7 separate regions of the Homo sapiens genome follow, and all the other regions are linked to region 4. Evidence: promoter capture Hi-C in 16 types of primary human blood cells and fetal thymus (Javierre and others, 2016). All regions are on one chromosome and are shown on one strand. Each heading gives the region's core, a stretch centred on a gene start or on the middle of the fragment in contact. The rest is flanking DNA. Distances are from core to core; before and after follow the strand shown. Region 1 holds the start of ZNF283 (zinc finger protein 283). Region 2 overlaps KCNN4 (potassium calcium-activated channel subfamily N member 4). Region 3 overlaps LYPD3 (LY6/PLAUR domain containing 3). Region 4 holds the start of ZNF428 (zinc finger protein 428). Region 5 has its middle 23 kb from the start of LYPD3. Region 6 has its middle 2.4 kb from the start of TEX101. Region 7 has its middle 9.7 kb from the start of KCNN4.

Region 1 (2,700 bases), core at 188-2,687, 210 kb after region 4:
AACCAAACACCACCTGTTTCCCAAAAACCTATGGAAATAAAAAATTAAAAAAAAATCAGACCCCCAAAATATTCAGAGTAGTACTTGTGGGAGTCATTGAGCAAGTAACATGGGAAGAGAGGAGGCTGCTTCCACCAGTGGTTTTGGAGGTGGAGCAGATGCTGATGATAATGAAGTCCCAGATGGGAAACGGGGATGGGTGCCGAGGAAAGCTCAAGGACCCTGCAGATGAGGACTCAGACCCACGATACTGGATGAGGCATCCATGTCACCATGGGAGTCAACCAGGGTAGTGGCCTCAGCTGAGGCAGGGGAAAAGCTGGGATCCAAGAGCTCTAGTCTTCTCTTGATAAGCAAGAGAGACCAGGAGGTGAGAGATGGCAGAGGATGAGAGAGGTGATATCAGTGACCAGAAAGAGCCCCTAAAAAGTAACTTCCTTTTCTTTCTGTTAGTTTTAATATAAAATTTCGCTTTAATATTTTTAGACAATTCTTTTTTAAAAAAGTATTTATATCCAAAGGTTCTTACCACACCAACCACAGCCCCAATCTTTTTGCCCTAACCTCAGAATCAGTTAGTTGTCTCCTTTAAAACCTTTCTCTCTCTCACACACCCACACACACACACACGCAAACACACAGGAGAGAGAGAGAGGGAATATATAGTATTGTTTTTGGAGTATGAGTGTGTGCTTCAGAATAAATGGTTTCATACTCTATAAAAAATGAGATTCAAATTTTATAATCCATCAAGTTTTATTGGAACACAGCCATGCTGGATTGCTTGTGCATTGTTTATGGCCGCCTTTGCACTGCCATAAGTCTCCACGGTCACAATATCCACTCACTACCACTTATTGTTGTCTTTCAACAGCGGCATATAAAATCTGTAACACAGTTCATCTCACACCTAATAAAACAGACTCACACAGGCATAAATTTAGAAAACATCCCATGAACATAAACAGGTCCACGCAGGGTCCCAGACACCGAATCGAACTAAGAAACTCCCTCACAGCAAGACACACCCATCTGTTCAATTGCCAGACACTGTTCCAGGCGCTCATACCCAGGTAAACTGGTAGTGTCGCGCAGGTCATTTCCAGCGAACTTACCCCGGATTCCCTTGCTCGCTCACGTCTAAGTCCCCAGACACCCCAGTCCCATCTTCGCCTGTTCTAGACTCCAGAATGCGTTCCTTAGCGAAAGCTGAGAACCTTTTAATTCGCTCTCAGTCAACACCAAAGACCCTCAAGCAAAAGCAAGAGCTCCCGGGCGTCTTCGAAAAAAGCGCCTTTGACAGGTGAAGCCAAGTTGCATGCTGGGAGCATCCCTGCTGTCCAGGTTTCAACTTCCGGAGACTCTGCCGCTGTGGACTACATTTCCCAGAAGTCTCCGGGGCACAGGCCTTTTAGGGGCGGGGCGAGCTTGCCTGCCAGAAGCTCCTCTCCCAGCCTGCGAGCATTTCCAGGCTCTTGTTTCCCATCAGCCTCTGGGTCCAAACTAACCACAGGTCTCTGGGTCCTTTTCCGGTGTCCTTAAGGTTCTTGGACTCTGCATGGTGAGTTGGTCGTGTCTGTAGAAGTAATCAGCCCGGGTGAAGCTGGGAGGGCTCGGCTGGCTTTACTGGGGCCCGACTGGAACCGGCAGTGAGGGTGGGGGTGGCATCGGGGGTGCTGGAGGTGGGGAGGGCTGGGTCACGGACAGAGCGTGTCGTGTCCGGATCCTCAAGCCTGTGTGCACGCGAGCAGCCGAGGGACAGTGTGTCTCAGACGGCGTGGCAGGGACGGGGCGTGTCCCCACGGAGGTGGGTGCAGTTGTGAATGTGTGACGGGCTGACAGGGTGCGTGGCCGTATTTGTAAATGTGATTTGCTTTGACCAAATGCTCTAGGTTCCCTTTAGCCTGTCTTCGGGCCTGCCACAATTAAATGACCGCAAGAAAGAAGTCTATGCTAAGCCCCATAATGAACGTTTCAAGCAAGAAGGATGAGAATTTTAGATCTGGAAGTGTCCGCGGGACAGGATCTTGTCAAGACCTGATGGGGAAGTTCTAGAGGTGGGATTCCTAGAAGAGGGGCCTCTAGGAGCTCTTTGGTGGTGAGCTACATGTTTCAGAGCCATTGCAAGCAGACCTCTGTCCCCAAGAATTGCCCTCAACACAGAGACAGACTCTAGCCTCCCTTTTCATTCCGTTTGGTTTTGTGTGGATGAAGGCAGAAGTGGCCCCAGAGGGTGTTTTGCTCTTCTTTTTCTTTTTTAATTAAGTCTGTGACGCGCTAGAAATGCTGATGTCTCATGTTACTGTTTTTTCCCCCAGTGCTGCCAGGTTGCCAGATTTCTAAGAAGGAGTTTGAAGAGGAGAAAAGGATTTTTGCATGTTTAGAAATCAAGGTTCAGGTGAGGTTTTTTATACATACTTTTTAAATACATACACATACAATTACCTTTGCTTCTAGGTCATGAGAACATTTTCTTTCCTTGGCCTGAAATATCTTGACTGGGTTTTCCCAGTTACATGACCCGCCATGCTGGTACATATTTCCTCCCAGTGGCCCCCTATTGTTCTTCTCCACAATTCTTACCCACCTGTTCATATGGCAAATTGTTCAAATACTTCAGTGCATTATGATGCACTGAAGAGTTATAGAAAGGCACCTCTTGTAGATTGCTATTAGAGCATTATTTTATACTATGATTAT
Region 2 (2,700 bases), core at 135-2,634, 150 kb after region 4:
TCCATGCTGCCTGCCCTCCCTGAGCACCTTCCTCCGAACACTCATTCTCCTCCCTTCCTTCTCCCAATGCTCCTGGCCCTTCAAGGCCTTGGCAATTCCTAGCTGCTTGTGGCATCTGCTCACCTGTCCCCAAGTTAGAAGGAATCTTCCTAGGAAGCATCCCCAACCCTATAGTTTCAGCTCTTGATCACTCAGAACAACTTCCAGTCACAAACGCTGGCTCCAGGGGACTGCCTGGGTTCCAAGCCCAGCTCTGAGCAAGTTATTTAATCTCTCAGTATTTCAGTGTCTCATCTGTGAAATGGCCTCACAGGGTTACTAGGTGGATTTCATGAATTACCCCTGGCAAGTGTGTAGGGCAGAGACTGGCACAGAGTATGTGCTCCGGAAAAGTAAGCTTTTATGGCCCAACCATGCCATGGAGCCTTTCTTCCAGGAGCAGGCTGTGAGCTCAAGTGCACATCACCCTATCTCTCTAGGTTTCTGTTTCTCCTTTTGTCAAATGAGGGAGGAGGTCCTGAGCGGTGCTGCAGGTCCCTAACTGAGTCTCTGCCCCTCTTCCCTTGCTCCAAAGACTCACCACTGGGGGAGTGGAGGTCACCACATCCTTCACCTGTGCACCTAGGGATTGGGGGATGAATATGTCCTTCCTAGGCCCACATCTGGGCTAGGTGCTGGTGGCTTAGGTCCCCGAGGGTGAGGGGAACCCGATCTTGTAGGGAGGTGAAGGCCAAGGCATTAGGTGCTAGTCTCTAGAGGGGGCCAGGGCTGGGTGGGAGGACCTGAGTGACTGGGTCTATGGAGGGAAGGAGGTGGATGTCAGGGTTCAGGAAGAGGCTGACTCAGGCTGCAGAGCCTCTGCCTCATCCTTGAGGGCAACAGGAGCTGGTGTGGGGTGGCTGGATGCCTGGCCACCCCTAGACCTGTTTACTGAGCACCTCCTGTGGGCTGGGCACTGTTGGAAGCACTTTACGTAGTTGGACCCATTTAATCATCTCAGCAAGCCCATGAGGAGCATCAGCATCCCCATTTTATAGATGAGGAAAGTGAGGCCCCGAGAGATCACGTGGCTCGCCTGAGCTCCCCAGCCAGGAAGTGGCAGCCGCAGGATTCGGACCCAGGTAGCCTGGCCCCACAGGTATGCACTTGATAACTGGACTCTACACCCTTGATGGAGGCTGGGAGACGATTTCCCAGTTCTGGAAGAAAATGGGGCTGCGAAGTCAGGAGCCTGGGTCCCTGAGGAGGATAAGGGCTGGGGCCCTAGGTTCTAGAGAGAGCAAGGACTTAGGGGCTGGATTCCTAGGTCTGATTTTTTATTTTATTTTTTAAGAGACAGGGTCTCACTCTGCCACCCAGGCTGGAGTGCAGCAGTATGATCATAGCTCACTGTACCCTCAAACTCTTGGGCTCAAGTGATCCTCCCACCTTGGCCTCCCAAAATATTGGGATTACAGGTGAGTATCTTGTTCTTGAAGAGAGAATGGGGCTCTGGGGGCCCCAGACACTCAAGTTTCTCAGGAGCTGTCCCTGAGAGCCTGTGTTGAACCCATTTAATCATGGCTTCCTGGGGCCAGAGGATGACCAGTTTGGGATAGGGATCATGTCCCCAAGGCAGCTGTACTCACCATGACTCCAGTGCACAGGCAGACGATCTTGCCCCACATGGTGCCCGGCACCACGTCACCATAGCCGATGGTCAGGAATGTGATGGGGATCAGCCAAAGTGTGTCTGAAAGGTGCCCAGTGGCATTAACAGCCTGCCTATGGGGAAGGGTAGGTTAGTTCTAAAACCCCACCATAGAGGTTTCCATGATATTCACTCCCCTTCCCTCTATACCCTCCCATCCCCTTCCCTCTGGTTCCCTCCCTTCCCCTCCCAGTATACACCCATAGTCCTAAGAATCACCTGGACAAAAAGCCATTAAGTTCTGAGCTTTGGAAAGCCTGCATGGCCTCCTCTCTGCTGTGTGACCTGGGCAAGTTGCTTAGCCACTCTGGGATTTGAGACTGGGTCTGGCCAATCCCAATGCCGGTATGGTCTCAGCTAGGCTACCCGGGCTGCTGTAGCATTCAGAGCGTGTGGTTGAGGGTGGAGAGTCGATAGGGGGCCAAAACCCAGTCAGACCCTGACTGGTGGCTACATCCACCCAGAGGAAGGGGTATATTTTTCTAATTTCCACAAAGATGCTGTGTGGTCCAGAAGTGGCCCTATCAGGACCAAAAAGGACTCTAAAAAGGCTTGGTGGGACTCGGCCTTCCTTTCCTCTCACTTCACAGAGGAGACATTTAAGTCCAGCCATGGAAGGGGTTGAAACATTGAGATTTGTCTAACTTTGTCCACAGGCCCCTTGCCGCAAGACCAGCAGGGAAAGCTTCATTCATGAGGGCCCCTGACACCCCAGACCCACCGGGTTGGAGTTTCTAGGAGCGAAGATGGAATCTGTACTGTTCACAAACCCCACCCCCTCATTCCGAAGTACATTCTAGTTTCAGGACTTCTGCCTTGGAATGTGGAACTTTGACTTCCTCCCCATTCTCCCATCATTCAATTGAGAAACATGGTGGGGGGATCATTCATTAATCCTGATTCTGACCAATTTCCCAATTGTGAAAACTAAGATCCTGGAAGGTGAAGGAGTTTAAACTCATGACAGAGGGCGGGCATGGTAATCCCAGCACTTTGGGAGGCTTAGGCAG
Region 3 (2,700 bases), core at 96-2,595, 160 kb before region 4:
AATGGTTTCGCCCGGTCTCCCCCTCACCAGTGGGACCACCCACATGCAGGATAGACCCAGGAGATTAAAGTTCAACCGTGACTTCCCCCAGGACTGCGGCTCTAGGTCCCATATCTCTCCCGTTAAAGGCTTTATGATGCCCACCCTAGCTCAGCTAGAGCGGTTATTGCGAGAAACAAGGTGGAAGTGACTCCTTTAAAGCACTATACAAAGTAATTAAATCTTTATTGAGGCATTTATGTGCCAGAAACTGATCACACACAGACATAAGGCACGGTCCCTGCCCTCGAGGAGCTCACAGTCTAGTAAGGAAGACATATGGGGAACCGATTCCCCAAAGATGCGGGGAGTAGGGGAGGCAGTGCTTAGAGTGGGGAGCCATTGTCCCACCCACCCCACGCTCCAAAGTCCAGGCTGGCTAGGAGAAAGTGAGTAGGAAGCTTAGCATCCTCTCTCTCACCTTCCCCGTGACAGCTGACTTCTCTCACTCTGTCCTAACATCACAAGAGGACAAGCGGAGAGACAAGGATGAGAAGGATACAGGAGCTGTCCTCAAAAAGCTAGAACACCCCTGGCAGAATATATACAACGGTATTTTATTTCCCAAAGCCGCAAACCAGCGCAGCAGAAGCTGGGGATACTGGGGAATGTTGGAAAAACAGGGGCTGGGCCAGCCCAGTCCAGTGGTGGGAACAGGAAGTGATGAGAAGAGGGGTACCCAGGGCCAGAGAAGTAGGTGAGAGGGAAATTTCCAGGTGGAGAAGCTCACAGTAGGACACCAGCAGCCACGGCCAACAGAAGGGCTGCCAATCCAGCTGTGGGAGCCACACAGCCTTTATTATGGGGCTGCTGGGGCCCCCCTTTTGCAGGATACTGCCCTGAATTGCTGCGGTCCTGGTGGCCAGCGGCGCCTCCAGTCAACCTGGGCTCCTCATCCCGGGAGGCCTCGTGTTCTACTCCCTGTCTCGGAGTCTGACTGGTTGGCGCTGGCATGGGTTTGGTGGTGGATGTGGGTCTCACTGGGGCCGAGGTAGAAGTGGTGACAGATGTGGTTGAGGCCACAGTCGTGGGCTCTGGAGGGGGCAGCCGGACAAGGGGTGGGATTCGAGGGGAGAAGTAGGTCTTGTTGCGGAGGTCAGAGTTACAGCGGGACCCCTGGCAACAGGAGCCACTGAGCGTGAACCCTGGGCCTGTTACTCCATCCCGAGTGCAGAATTCATCCTGGACACAGCCCCGGACAGGCAAGGACACAGTCACATTAGCTGCAGGAAGGAGACACAGATAGGTCAGTGGCTGGAGGGAGAGAGGTTGACATGGCCAGAACAAAACTTAGAGGCATCAGACAAGAACAGAGAACCTGACCGGGCGTGGTGGCTCACGCCTGTAATCCCAGCACTTTGGGAAGCCGAGGCAGGTGGATCACTGGGCAACAGAGTGAGACTCTGTCTTGCAAAAAAAAAAAAGAACAGAGAACCCCCAAAATGAGACAGAAAGTCTCTGCATCCATTAATCCCAAAATCTCAACTCAGGTCCTACTATGAGAAACAGACAGACTCACTGTCTTTGGCACATGGTGGATTAACATTTTCCATTGTGCTTTGAATGGAAATGTGTGTAGGCTGAACCAAAAGTAGGGTTTAAAACAAAGGCTTAGACTGAGATACAAGACCTCTCACAAGACCACAGTGCAGAACAAACTTCCTCTACAACCCTCTCACCATTATCCCCTTAGCCTTCACCCTGGCTTTTACCTCCCCATCAGAATTTACTCTTAGAGTCAGAGTTACATCTCCACACCAGGCTCAGTGGTTCACGGCTGTAATCCCAGCACTCTGGGAGACCTAGGCAGGGGGATCTCTTAGCCCAAGAGTTCAATACCAGCCTGGGTAACATGGCAAGACCCCACTGTTACCAAAAATAAAAGGAACCAGTCGTGGCGGTGCACCCTGTAGTCCCAGCTACTTGGGAGGCTGAGGCGGGAGGACTGCTTGAGCCCAAGAGGTAGAGGCTGCAGTGAGCTATGATTGCGCCACTACACTCCAGGCTAGGCGATAGAGCAAGATGCTGTCTTTAAAAAAAAATAGTAATAATAAAATAAAAAAGAACTACATCTTCCATAGCATAACTGGCAGGGGATGGGATTTGAAGAACTTCATTTTCCATGGTTACATTTCTCAATAGTCTGGGACAGGCGGGGGACCCCTTGAGTTTTAAGGGCTAAGAACTAGAGATTCCCCGCAGTGCCTGGGCAGAAGCTTAGAGGCTTAAATACCTCTTAAGTACCTGGCAGCCCTCTATGGAAATGCATTTCCCTCCAAAACACTCTGGGACAAAGCATCACTATCCCCACACTATTAATATGTTGGGGGAAGGGACTGCATTTTCCATGATGCCCTACGATACAAGCACCTAGGCCCCACGATTCCCAGAATGCGTCGCAGGTTAAGGAAACGCTTTGGGTAAAGGGCTCCCTACCGCCCAGGGTGCTTCAGAAGGGCTACCACAACTCCCGTAGGTCCCGTGCTCCGGGGCTCCCTCACCTGCCGTCAAGGTGACGTTGCCGTCGAAGCAGCCCTTGTAGACATGATCGCTGGCGTTGTAGCAGCTCACGACCGGCGGCGATGTACCCTGGCACGCCTCCCGGCTCAGGCCCACACAGCTGTAGCACTCCACGCCGTTGGGCGGGTATGCACTCTCATT
Region 4 (2,700 bases), core at 36-2,535:
ATTTTTTAAGAGACAGGGTCTCGCTCAGTTGCCCAGGCTGGAGTGCAGTAGGGTGATCTGTAGGAAAGGGGCTTCCAGGCCTTAACTCATGTACTCCCCCATAACCAGGTTGGGAGGTTAGCTCACTGTAACCTCAAACTCCTGTGCTCAAGGTACCCTACTAGCCCCTAGGAGAGCAGCTGGGACTACAGGTATGCGCCACCATGCCAGGCTTAATTTTTACTTTTTTTTTTTTTTTTTTTTTTTGTAGAGACGGGGGTCTCACTATATTGCCCAGGCTGGTCTTGAACTCCTGGTCTCAAGCGATCCTCCTGCCTTAGCCTCCCAAAGTATTGGTATCACTGCAACTAGCCCAAAGAATTAATATAGCTATGTTCCATGTGATATTTGGGACATACTTTTCTAAAAGGTTGTATCTTTTGGATATAATTGTTTATCTGAAATTCAAATTTAACTAGACATTGTATATTTTATACGGCAACCACACACCTGGGACAATCAAGACATTCCCTGAAGTTACCAGGAGACAATGCCCATCAGCCTACACTTTTCCAAGCCCACGTCACACAAGGCCCCTTCCAGAGTATTCCAGACGTCAGGTAGGGCCATCCCTTGGTTCACAAGTCCCACTCCTACCACGCCTATGGCAGCCAAACTGAAAGGCAAACACAGTGCTGGAGACCCCACAATGCCCTGGGCCTATAGCAGTCAATTCCCAAGATGCCCCGCGTGAACACAATAGGCACCCGTTCCAATGCTCGAGCAAAGAGACCAGGGCAAAACCTTCCACTACGGGACAATAACGGCCAGTTCCCACAATTCGTTGTGGCAGTTCTTCCCAGGATGCCTTAGGCCTATAGCGACCACCTTCCCAGACTCCCCGTGTGGAAGCGCTCCAAGCCTCCAGGACGGTCAGCGGCAGGTGTGGGATAAAAGGAACCGGTCTCGACAAGGATCTGGGACACTCTTTCCCAGGATGCACCAGGCCTACGACTAGCGGACCGACTCCCACAGCGCTTCAAGGCGGAGCGCTCGGTTCTCCCAGGATGCCCCAGGGCGGCACAAACGCGTAGGGGGAGAAAAAGAAGCCCTCGGGTCACCACGGCCCCAGACCGCCGGCTCCCCGGTGACGGGAGTCGTCGCTCCCATCATGCAGCGGGGCCGTAGCGCCCGCTTCCCGGCATGCCTCGCGCACCCCTGCCCGGGACACTCACCGGCGCCGGCGGCCCCCGCTCCGGCTCTGCGGCGGCGGCTGCACGCCCAGCCTCTGCGCCTGCGTCGCAAGTAGGGTAGGACAGCGCGCAGGGGGCGTGAAGAGCCTAGGGCGCTTGCGCGGCGAGACGGACTAGTCCTGTAGCGCTGTGGGAAGAGGGGCTATGCGCGTCGGGCCGTCGACGAGACCCGCGCGGGGGGCGCCGTGCTTTGCCCCTCGCTGCCTGGGTTTACTTGGTACAGCCCGCGGCCCAAAGGAACAAGAAGCTGAAGGGTTCGCGCGTGCGTGTGCGGGGCAGGAACGCGCCTTACAAAACTGGGATGCGCTGGGGGTGGAGGGCGCTAGTTCGGACTGGATCCTGGGCCCGAGGCCTGCTTATTTGCATAATCCTAGCGCGGGACAATGAAAGGCCTCCCGCACTGGAAGGAGTGATTTGCATATTCCCCGGAGGGGCCTTACTCCAGAGCGCAGTGATTAGCATATGGCGGGGGCAACCTGAGCAAAGCGCATGCGCGCAGGGACTGCAGACTGACGCGAAGTGGGTAGCCTTGTCTTCGTAGGGGATCAGTTTGCATCCTGAGAGAGGGCACGAGGGCCAGGACCCCTCCCAACCAGGATAAAGGTTTATTGATCTCCTAGGTGTCAGGCCCCATGCTGGCGGATTCTGTGGTTTCTGCAGTGAACCATACTCCTGTACTCACGGCACCCCAGTCGAAGGAGATACGCACCTAATTAGACAACTACTACCCAGAAGGTCAGACCTGGAGTGAGGAACACAGGGGGCTGTGGGAGCCTAAGAGGCGCTTGCCCCGGCCTCTGGTTCTAGAAAGACTTCCAGGAGGTGGTGATCCTTAAGCCAAGTACGAATAGGAGCCAACTAGAATGGGAATGGGTCTGGCAGAATGAACTGCAAGCGCCAAGGCCCAGAGGCCAAAAAAAAAAAAAAAAAAATAGAAGCGCATGTTTTGATTGAGGAAGCAAGAGCAGCTTAGTATGCCTAGAACCTAACTGGAGACGGGAAATGGTTCTATAGACGATGTTAGAGTTCAACTATGGCTACATTCCAGTCTTCCTGTAAGTGACTTTGTCACATTCTGGCTTAAAACTCCCCCAAAGGGATCCCATTAGGAAAAAAAAAAAATCCAAAAATCTTTATCATGGCCTCAGGGCTATACACCTGGTCTGGCCGTGCTTATCTTTCTGACCCCACCTACTTCCTCCTCCCTCCATTTCTGTCCAGCTCCACCTTACCCCAAACTCTTTACCAGCTCGGGCCTCTGCTCTTGCCGTTCCCTCCGCCTGAAAATGCTTTTCCCTCTGACCTTTGAATACCTACTCTTGTGCTCACCATTCATATCTTGGTACAGATGTCAATCTGAGAGGCTTTTCCTGATCTCTCCATAATAGCACTTACACATTTGACTGGAGTTATGGATAAATCGGGATTGGCCATGAGTTGGTGGTGGTTGTAACTGGCATGAAGAGTA
Region 5 (2,700 bases), core at 112-2,611, 180 kb before region 4:
CACCATGCCCGGCTAATTTTTTGTATTTTTAGTAGAGACAGGGTTTTGCCATATTGCCCAGGCTGGTCTCGAACTCCTGAACGCAAGTACTCCACCCACCTCAGCCTCCCAAAGTGCTGAGATTACAGGCGTGAGCCACCGTGTCCAGCCATTTTTTTTTTTAAGGCAGGGTCTTGCTCTATCGCCCAGGCTGGAGTATAGTGGCACAATCATGGCTCACTGCAGCCTCAACCTCCTGGGCTCAAGCTATTCTCCTGTCTTAGCCTCCCACGTAGCTGAGACTACAGGCACAGGCCACTCCTAGCTTGGAGTGTGGATTTTATTGTGATTAAATTAGTTGTCAACCTAGATAACAAACAGCGAGAGGCTCTCTAAAAGAAACAAAAATTGGTTGGGCGAGGTGGCTCACGTCTGTAATCCTAGCACTTTGGGAGGCCGAGGCGGGTGGATCACTTGAGGTCAGGAGTTCGAGACGAACCTGACCAACATGGCAAAGCCTCATCTCTACTAAAAATACAAAAATTAGCCAGGCATCATGGCAGGTGCATGTAATCCCAGCTGCTAGGGAGGCCAAGGCAGGAGAATCAGTTGAACCCGGGGGGTGGAGGTTGCAGTGAGCCAAGTTCATGCCACTGCACTCCAGCATGGGCGAAAGAGTGAAACTACATCTCAAAAAAAAAAAAAAAGTTTATTCAAGAACAGAGAATTGCAATGGGAATAGGAGTGTTATACATATTCAAGGAGGTCAAAGAAGACAAAGGTTTTTAAAGAAAAAAAATGAGGAGAATTACATAATGGTTTTGAAATAATCATCTTTGGCTAGAAAAATGAATCACAAAGATGATGCCAGTCTGGGGTTGGACAGGCAGTTGCTGGGCAAACGTCCTTGCAGAAGTATTTTTCTGTGTAAGTTTGCAATGGTCTTTGTGTGAGATTGTGTTTTTTGCAGTTTTTTTGTGATAGTTTTTGTGATCAGTCATACAAGTATGAGAACCCTCTCTCCATGGCTTTCCTTCACTCTGTTGGTCGGAGCTTTTTTTTCTTTTTCTTTTTTTTAACATGAGTGACTCCATTTTGATTCTGATAACCTTCAAAAGTTCATATGTGCCTGGGTCATGGGGACTGCTTAGTAAATGCTAGCTTTCACTTTACTATTGGAATTTTTACCTCCAAAATGCAGCATCTCCCCATTCCAAGGTCCTAAGTAGAATGGAAGAGGAGATGCCAGGGAATCTTGACAAGGGAAACTTTCACGGTTGACTCTACATTTGAATTTCTATAGCAGGATTAAGTCTGTGTATTATTTACGTGATTTAAAAAGGCCGAGTGTGGTGGCTCACGCCTGTAATTCCAGGACTTTGGGAGGCTGAGGCAGGTGGATCACCTGAGGTCAGGAATTTGAGACCAGCCTGGTCAACATATAATGAAACCCCATCTCTACTACGAATATAAAAATTAGCCAGGCATGGTGGCATACACCTGTAATCCCAGCTACTCAGGAGGCTGAGGCAAGAGAATTGTTTGAACCTGGGAGGCAGAGGTTGCAGTGAGCCAAGATGGCACCACTGCACTCCAGCCTGGTGACAGAGCGAGACTCTGTCTCAAAAAAAAAAAAAAAAAATCTAAAAATTAGCTAGGCATGGTGGTGCACACTTGTGGTCCCAGCTACTTGGAAAACTAAGGCAGAAGGATCGCCTAAGCCTAGGAGGTCAAGGCTGCCATGAGCTGCGATCACACCACTGCACCCCAGGCTGGGTGACAGAGCAAGACCCCCTCTCACAAAAAAATTTTTAAAAAGATAATGTTAAATATATGTTAGTAGATAAATGTTCACAAAAATCATTAGTGTTGAAGGAAGTGAGGAAAAGATTAAAGGGTGTATTAGTCCATTCTCACACTGCTATAAAGATACTACCTGCTATAAAGATACTGGCCAGACAAGGTGGCTCATGCCTGTAATCCCTACTCTTTGGGAGGCTGAGGTGGGTAGATCACCCGATGTCAGGAGTTCAAGACCAGCCTGGCTAACATGATGAAAACCCGTCTCTACTAAAAATACAAAAAAAAAAAAAAAGTCAGGCATGGTGGCAGGCACCTGTAATCAGCTACTCAGGAGGCTGAGGCAGGAGAATCACTTGAATCCAGGAGACAGAGGTTGTGAGCCGAGATCGCACTACTGCACTCCAGCCTGGGCAACAAGAGGGAAACTCTGTCTCAAAAAAAAAGATACTACCTGAGACTGGGTAATTTATAAACAAAAGAGGTTTAATTGACCTGCAGTTCCACATTGCTGAGGAAGCCTCAGGAAACTTACACTCATGGCGGAAGGGGAAGGGGAAGCAAGCACCTTCTTCACAAGGTGGCAGGAGAGACAGTGCAGGGGAAACGGCCACTTATAAACCATCAGATCTCATGAGAACTGCATGGGGGAACCACCCCCAAGATCGAATCACCTCCCACCAGGTCCCTCCCTCCACATGTGGGGATTACAATTTGAGATGAGGTTTTGGGGGGACACAGAGCCAAACCATATCACCAGGGTTAAGATTTATAAATTGCTCTGTGAACCCCGAAAATCTGAGACAGGTCTCAGTTAATTCAGAAAGTTAATTAGGAGACCAAGGTTGAGAATGCACGCACATGACACAGCCTCAGGAGGTCCTGATGACACGTGCCCAAGGTGGTAGGGGCACAGCTTGG
Region 6 (2,700 bases), core at 11-2,510, 210 kb before region 4:
TCTTGCTCTGTCACCCAGGCTGCAGTGCAGTAGCACAATCTTGACTCACTGCAGCCTCCACCTCCCAGGTTCAAATGATTCTCTCGCTGCAGCATCCAGAGTAGCTGGGATTACAGGGGCGCACCACCACGCCCAGCTAATTTTTTCATTTTTAGTGGAGACAGGGTTTCACCATGTTGGCCAGGCTGGTCTCGAACTCCTGATCTCAGGTGATCCACCACCTCGGCCTCCCAAAGTGCTGGGATTACAGGCCTGAGCCACCGTGCCTGGCCCATTAGAAAGTTTTAAACAGGAGTAATGTGGTGTGGCTTGCAATTAAGAGATCGCTCTGGTGCCAGGTGGGAAATAGCCACATGGGCAAGGGCAGGGCGTACTGCAATAATCCAGTGACCAATGGTGGTGTCACAAGTGCTTATATAAAAAGATGCCTTCACTGTATATTAGCCATTGAGCTTTTTTCTTTTTTACAAACGTTCCATGGATTCATAAACTATTTGCCAACCATTGCTCTAGACTAACCTCCTCATTTTCTTTTTTTTCTTTTTTTTCTTTTTTTTTGAGACCAAGACCAAGTTTTGCTCTTGTTGCCCAGGCTGGAGTGCAATGGTGCAGTCTCAGCTCACTGCAACCTCCGCCTCCCAGGTTCAAGTGATTCTCCTGCCTCAGCCTCCCAAGTAGCTGGGATTACAGGCGCGTGCCACCAGGCCTGGCTAATTTTTGTATTTTTAGCAGAGACAGGGTTTCACCGTGTTGGTGAAGGTCAGGCTGGTCTCAAACTCCTGACCTCAGGTGAACCACCCACCTTGGCCTCCCAAAGTGCTGGGATTATGGGCTTGAGCCACTGCACCCAGCCTAACCTCTTCATTTTCTAGATGAGGACACTGAAGCTTGGAGAGGAACAGAAATTGGCTCAGGCTAAGGAAGATCTGTCAATCTCTCTTGCACCAAAAAGGCAAAGCCACCTTTCTCAAGGGGCTGTGTATTGGGGTGTTCTTGCACTGCTATAAAGAAATACCTGAGACTAGAAGTAATTTATAAGAAAAGAGGTTTGATTGGCTCAAGGTTCTGCAGCTGTACAGGAAGCGTGGTGCCAGCATCTCCTTCTGGGGAGGCCTCAGAGAGCTTTTACTTATGGCAAAAGGATGCAGGCCAGAGAAGGGGAGCGAGAGAGAGTAAGAAGGGGAGGTGCCACACACTTAAACAACCAGATCTGGCAAGGACTCACTCATCATTGCAAGGACAGCACCAAGTCATGAAGGATCTGCCCCCATAACCCAAACACCTTCCACCAGGTCGCATCTCCAACACTGGGAATTACATTTCAACATGAGATTTGGGCGGGGGACAAATATCCAAACTATGTCACGGAGCAAGAGGAGGTCCCTGGAGCTGTTGAAGCAGAAATGGGGTGAAGAATAGAGGTGGAGGGTGCTTAGGCTTCCAAGGTCTCTTCTAGGTGTGAGATGGAGGGATTCTGCGACCAAGTCACCTGGAGAGTGACTCAACAAGGTGACTGCTTTCCCAAGCACGAGCCCTCGGGGGACAGACGGGGGCTGAAAACTGGCACACATTCTTCCTGGATCCTTTGACATGTGATCATTCAAAGATAACAGTTCAAAGATAACAAAGGGATTGAAGCTTTACCAATCCCTTTCTTATTGTGGCATTTTCTCTATTAAAAATAAATACTCATTTATACTATAACTTACAGAATCAGTACCAATTCTGAAAGTATACAAAGCGTTGCCTTACTTTAAGGAAGGAGACCACTACTACTCCTGCTGCCCTCCTCCCCCGACCTTGCCTAGTTCACAAGACAGGAGGAAAGAGAGAAAGCAAAAAGTTGGAAAGAAACAGAAGTAAGATAAATAGCCAGTCAACCTTGGCACCACCACCCAGCCCTAGGAGTTAAAAAAAGTAATAATAATAACAGCAACCCCTGACCTAAACTACTTGTGTTATCTGTAAGTTCCAGACATTATATGAAAAAGCATTGCAAAACTTTCTGTTCTGTTACCTGATGCATGTAGCCCCCAGTCACGTTTCCCACGCTTGCTCGATTTATCACGACCCTTTCATGTGGACCCCTCGAAGTTGTAAGCCTTTAAAAAGGCCAAGAATTGGCCAGGCGTGGTGGCTCATGCCTGTAATCCCAGCACTTTGGGGGGCGGGCGGATCACGAGGTCAGGAGATCGAGACCATCCTGGCTAACACAGTGAAACCCCATCTCTACTAAAAATACAAAAAAATTAGCCGGGTGTGGTGGTGGGTGACTGTAGTCCCAGCTACTCGGGAGGCGGAGGCAGGAGAATGGCATGAAGTCGGGAGGCAGAGCTTGCAGTGAGCCGAGATTGCACCACTGCACTCCAGCCTGGGCAACAGAGGGAGACTCCAAAAAAAAAAAAAAAGGCCAAGAATTTATTTTTCAGGGAGCTCGGCTCTTAAGACGCAAGTCTGCTGAGGCTCCCGGCCAAATAAACCTCTTCCTTCTTTAATCCAGTATCTGAGGAGTTTTGTCTGCAGCTCATCCTGCTACAACTTCATGTCACACCTGGAAAGCTTACATAGGCCAGGGGTGGTGGCTCACGTCTGTAATCCCAGTACTCTGGGAGGCCGAGGTGGGCAGATCACCTGAGGTTAGGAGTTCAAGACCAGCCTGGTCAACACGGCGAAACCCCGTCTCTACTAAAAATACAAAAA
Region 7 (2,700 bases), core at 80-2,579, 170 kb after region 4:
GAAGGGGCAAGGTTGTATGTAAAATCCAGACATTAAATAATCATTATCTGCATTACCAGAAGAAGAGAGATGTCTGGGTTCCCAAGTGGGTGTATGGGTCACTGTGAGTTAAATAGGTATTAGTTCTATCTATTATCTACCTTTTCATATATACATACATATTCATATATGTGTACATATATATTTATTATCGAGAACTTCAAACATATAGAAGTGAACAGAAGAGTATAATAAATCTCCATGTATCTATTTAACAAATACCAATTCGTGGTCAATTGCATTTCATCTGTGCTTCCATTTACTTCCTCACTTCCTATGTTATTTCAGTGTAAAACCTAGAGGTAATACCATTTAATCATATGTGGCATTTAAAATTGTTTTCTTTTTCTTTTTAGAGGCAGGGTCTCACTCTGTCACCCAGGCTGAGTGCAGCGGCCCAATCATAGCTCACTGCAGCCTCGACCTCCTGCCCCCAAGAGATCCTCCTGCATCAGCCTTCCAGGTAGCTGGGACTACAGGCGCACACCACTGCACCTAGTTACTTTTAAAATTTTTAGTAAAGACAGGGTCTCTCTATGTTGGCCAGGCTGGTCCTGAACTCCTGGCTTCAAGCAATTTTCCTACCTCGACCTCCCAAAGTGCTGGGATTACAGGCGTGAGCCACCAGGACTGACCTAAGACAGACTTACACATTGCAAGTCCGCAGATCTTAAGTGTATGGATTAATTCAGTTAAACCTGTATACAGACATGTGTGACCACCATCTCTATCAAGCTATCTCCATCACCACAAGAGGCTCTCTTGTAACCCTCCCAACTGATACACCAGAGATAACCAGTATTCTGAATCCCTATCACCAAAGATTAAAAAGCTCTAATATGGATGTCCAAAGACCTGAGCTCTAGCCATGTCTTTGCTTTTGACATTAAAAAAAAAATAGGTCTGGCGCGGTGGCTCAAGCCTGTAATCCTAGCACTTTGGGAGGCCGAGGCAGGTAGATCATGAGGTCAGGAGATCGAGAACACCCTGGCTAACACGGTGAAACCCCGTCTCTACTAAAAATACAAAAAAAAAATTAGCCGGGCATGGTGGTGGGCGCCTATAGTCCCAGCTACTCGGGAGGCTGAGGCAGGAGAATGGCGTAAACCCAGGAGGCGGAGCTTGCAGTGAGCCAAGATTGTGCCACTGCACTCCAGCCTGGGCGACAGAGCGAGACTCTGTCTCAAAAAATAAAAACAACAAAAACAAATAAATAAATAAAATATACCTTATATGCCAAAAGTGCATAAAACATAGTGGTACATTTTGGACAAATGATGTATTGTGAACCTCCATAAAATCAAAGGCACACCAAGAGAAAGTATTTGCATTCCCTAGAATCTCCTTATGTGCTCCTTTATGATCGGGAACCCCCAACCTCCAGAGGAAACCACTACCCTCACTTAGAAGGGACTTTAACTCCTCGTAGACCATAACACTCACACTCTGGTTTCTCAGTTCCTCCTTCTGCCTCCAGCCTTTTAATCCTAAATTGCCCTTGACTCTGGAAACCAGGCAGCATGAGAGGCCCTCTCACCATCCACCTCCCTGGTCTCCCTGCCTCCAATCTCACTCCCTCGGGCCTGTCTCCTGCATGGCCACAGGGAGAGCCTCATATCACCTGGCTTTGACCATGCCTCGCCCCTTCTCTATATCAGTCCATGTATCCCCATTGGCTGTAGGAGAAAGTTCAGAAAATGTTATCCCTATTTGACATTGTAAGCCCTTCAGGGGCACTGCCACATCTTCATTCACATCTTCTTCACTTAAAAAAAAATAGAGACAGTGTCTTACTCTGTTGCCCAGGCTGGAGTGCAATGGAGCGATCATAGCTCACTGCAACCTCAAATACCTGGGCTCAAGCAATCCTCCCACCTCAGCCTCTCTAGTAGGTGAGACCACAGGCATGCACCATCATGCCCCACTAATATTTTTAGTTTTTTGTAGAGATAAGGTCTCACCATGTTGCCCAGGTTGGTTTCAAAGTCCTGGGCTCAAGTGTTCCTTCTACCTTGGCCTCCCAAAGTGCGGGGATTACAGGAGTGAGCCACTGCTTCTGGCTTTCCTCACACTTTAAACACAGGTAGGTACTGAAAAATAGTTTTTCAAAGTGGTTGTTCTATTTTACACACATACTACTTGGATGTGAGAATCCCAGTAGCTCCACATCCTTGCTAATAAATGAAGCCTTTTATTTTACTTTTTTTTCTTTTTTTGAGATGGAGTCTCACTCTGTCGCCCAGGCTGGAGTGCAGTGGCGCAATCTCGGCTCCCTGCAAGCTCTGCCTTCCAGGTTCACACCATTCTCCTGCCTCAGCCTCCCATGTAGCTGGGACTACAGGCACCTGCCACCACGCCTGGCTAATTTTTTGTATTTTTAGTAGAGACAGAGTTTCACCATGTTAGCCAGGATGGTCTTGATCTCCTGACCTCGTGATCCGCCCGCCTCGGCCTCCCAAAGTGCTGGGATTACAGGCGTGAGCCACTGTGCCCAGCCTATTTTACTTTTAATTAAATTGTTTAGAGAGACGGGGTCTTGCTACATTGCCCAGGCTAGTCTCGCACTCCTGGGCTAAAGCAATCCTTCTGCCTCTGCCTCCAAAATTGCTGGGATTACAGGTGTGAGCCACTGTTTCCAGCAGGTGAAGCTTTTATTAGGTG

The links. Contacts are between HindIII fragments. The CHiCAGO score rates a contact against its expected background, and 5 or more counts as called.
Region 1: the fragment with the promoter of ZNF283 here is called in contact with the fragment with the promoter of ZNF428 in region 4 in 15 of 17 cell types (activated CD4 T cells, neutrophils, monocytes and 12 more); the score reaches 23.5 in activated CD4 T cells.
Region 2: a contact is called between a fragment that was not itself captured here and the fragment with the promoter of ZNF428 in region 4, in 11 of 17 cell types (monocytes, non-activated CD4 T cells, activated CD4 T cells and 8 more). The highest score is 9.3, in monocytes.
Region 3: a fragment that was not itself captured here is called in contact with the fragment with the promoter of ZNF428 in region 4 in 11 of 17 cell types (fetal thymus, naive CD8 T cells, activated CD4 T cells and 8 more); the score reaches 12.4 in fetal thymus.
Region 5: a contact is called between a fragment that was not itself captured here and the fragment with the promoter of ZNF428 in region 4, in 9 of 17 cell types (naive CD8 T cells, activated CD4 T cells, total CD8 T cells and 6 more). The highest score is 10.7, in naive CD8 T cells.
Region 6: a contact is called between a fragment that was not itself captured here and the fragment with the promoter of ZNF428 in region 4, in 1 of 17 cell types (total CD8 T cells). The highest score is 5.2, in total CD8 T cells.
Region 7: a contact is called between a fragment that was not itself captured here and the fragment with the promoter of ZNF428 in region 4, in 10 of 17 cell types (non-activated CD4 T cells, activated CD4 T cells, M2 macrophages and 7 more). The highest score is 8.7, in non-activated CD4 T cells.

The regions. Positions count from the first base shown.
Region 1 is chr19:43,825,884-43,828,583 of GRCh38, forward strand. ZNF283 (zinc finger protein 283) reads left to right here and starts at 1,438. Exons shown (of 7, transcript NM_181845.2): 1 at 1,438-1,561; 2 at 2,319-2,398. RefSeq lists an enhancer at 1,296-1,495. The HindIII fragment of the contact is 6,325 bases long and covers 1-2,700 here.
Region 2 is chr19:43,770,372-43,773,071 of GRCh38, forward strand. KCNN4 (potassium calcium-activated channel subfamily N member 4) reads right to left here. Exons shown (of 9, transcript NM_002250.3): 4 at 1,629-1,764. Among named protein-coding and RNA genes, the nearest start is that of KCNN4, 9.3 kb to the right of the region's middle. The HindIII fragment of the contact is 1,978 bases long and covers 396-2,373 here.
Region 3 is chr19:43,460,586-43,463,285 of GRCh38, forward strand. It overlaps LYPD3 (LY6/PLAUR domain containing 3), which reads right to left. Exons shown (of 5, transcript NM_014400.3): 4 at 2,541-2,700; 5 at 202-1,262. The coding sequence ends at 766. Among named protein-coding and RNA genes, the nearest start is that of LYPD3, 3.7 kb to the right of the region's middle. RefSeq lists enhancers at 2,552-2,611, 2,642-2,691. The HindIII fragment of the contact is 1,815 bases long and covers 439-2,253 here.
Region 4 is chr19:43,618,344-43,621,043 of GRCh38, forward strand. ZNF428 (zinc finger protein 428) reads right to left here and starts at 1,286. Exons shown (of 3, transcript NM_182498.4): 1 at 1,215-1,286. LOC105372411 (a long non-coding RNA gene) reads left to right here and starts at 718. Exons shown (of 4, transcript XR_001753942.2): 1 at 718-1,289. RefSeq lists an enhancer at 645-1,295 and a silencer at 1,100-1,339. The HindIII fragment of the contact is 4,307 bases long and covers 1-2,700 here.
Region 5 is chr19:43,441,075-43,443,774 of GRCh38, forward strand. No RefSeq gene overlaps it. Among named protein-coding and RNA genes, the nearest start is that of LYPD3, 23 kb to the right of the region's middle. The HindIII fragment of the contact is 6,258 bases long and covers 1-2,700 here.
Region 6 is chr19:43,411,104-43,413,803 of GRCh38, forward strand. It overlaps a transcript of TEX101 not described here. Among named protein-coding and RNA genes, the nearest start is that of TEX101, 2.4 kb to the right of the region's middle. RefSeq lists a silencer at 1,988-2,174. The HindIII fragment of the contact is 751 bases long and covers 886-1,636 here.
Region 7 is chr19:43,789,322-43,792,021 of GRCh38, forward strand. No RefSeq gene overlaps it. Among named protein-coding and RNA genes, the nearest start is that of KCNN4, 9.7 kb to the left of the region's middle. The HindIII fragment of the contact is 2,711 bases long and covers 1-2,685 here.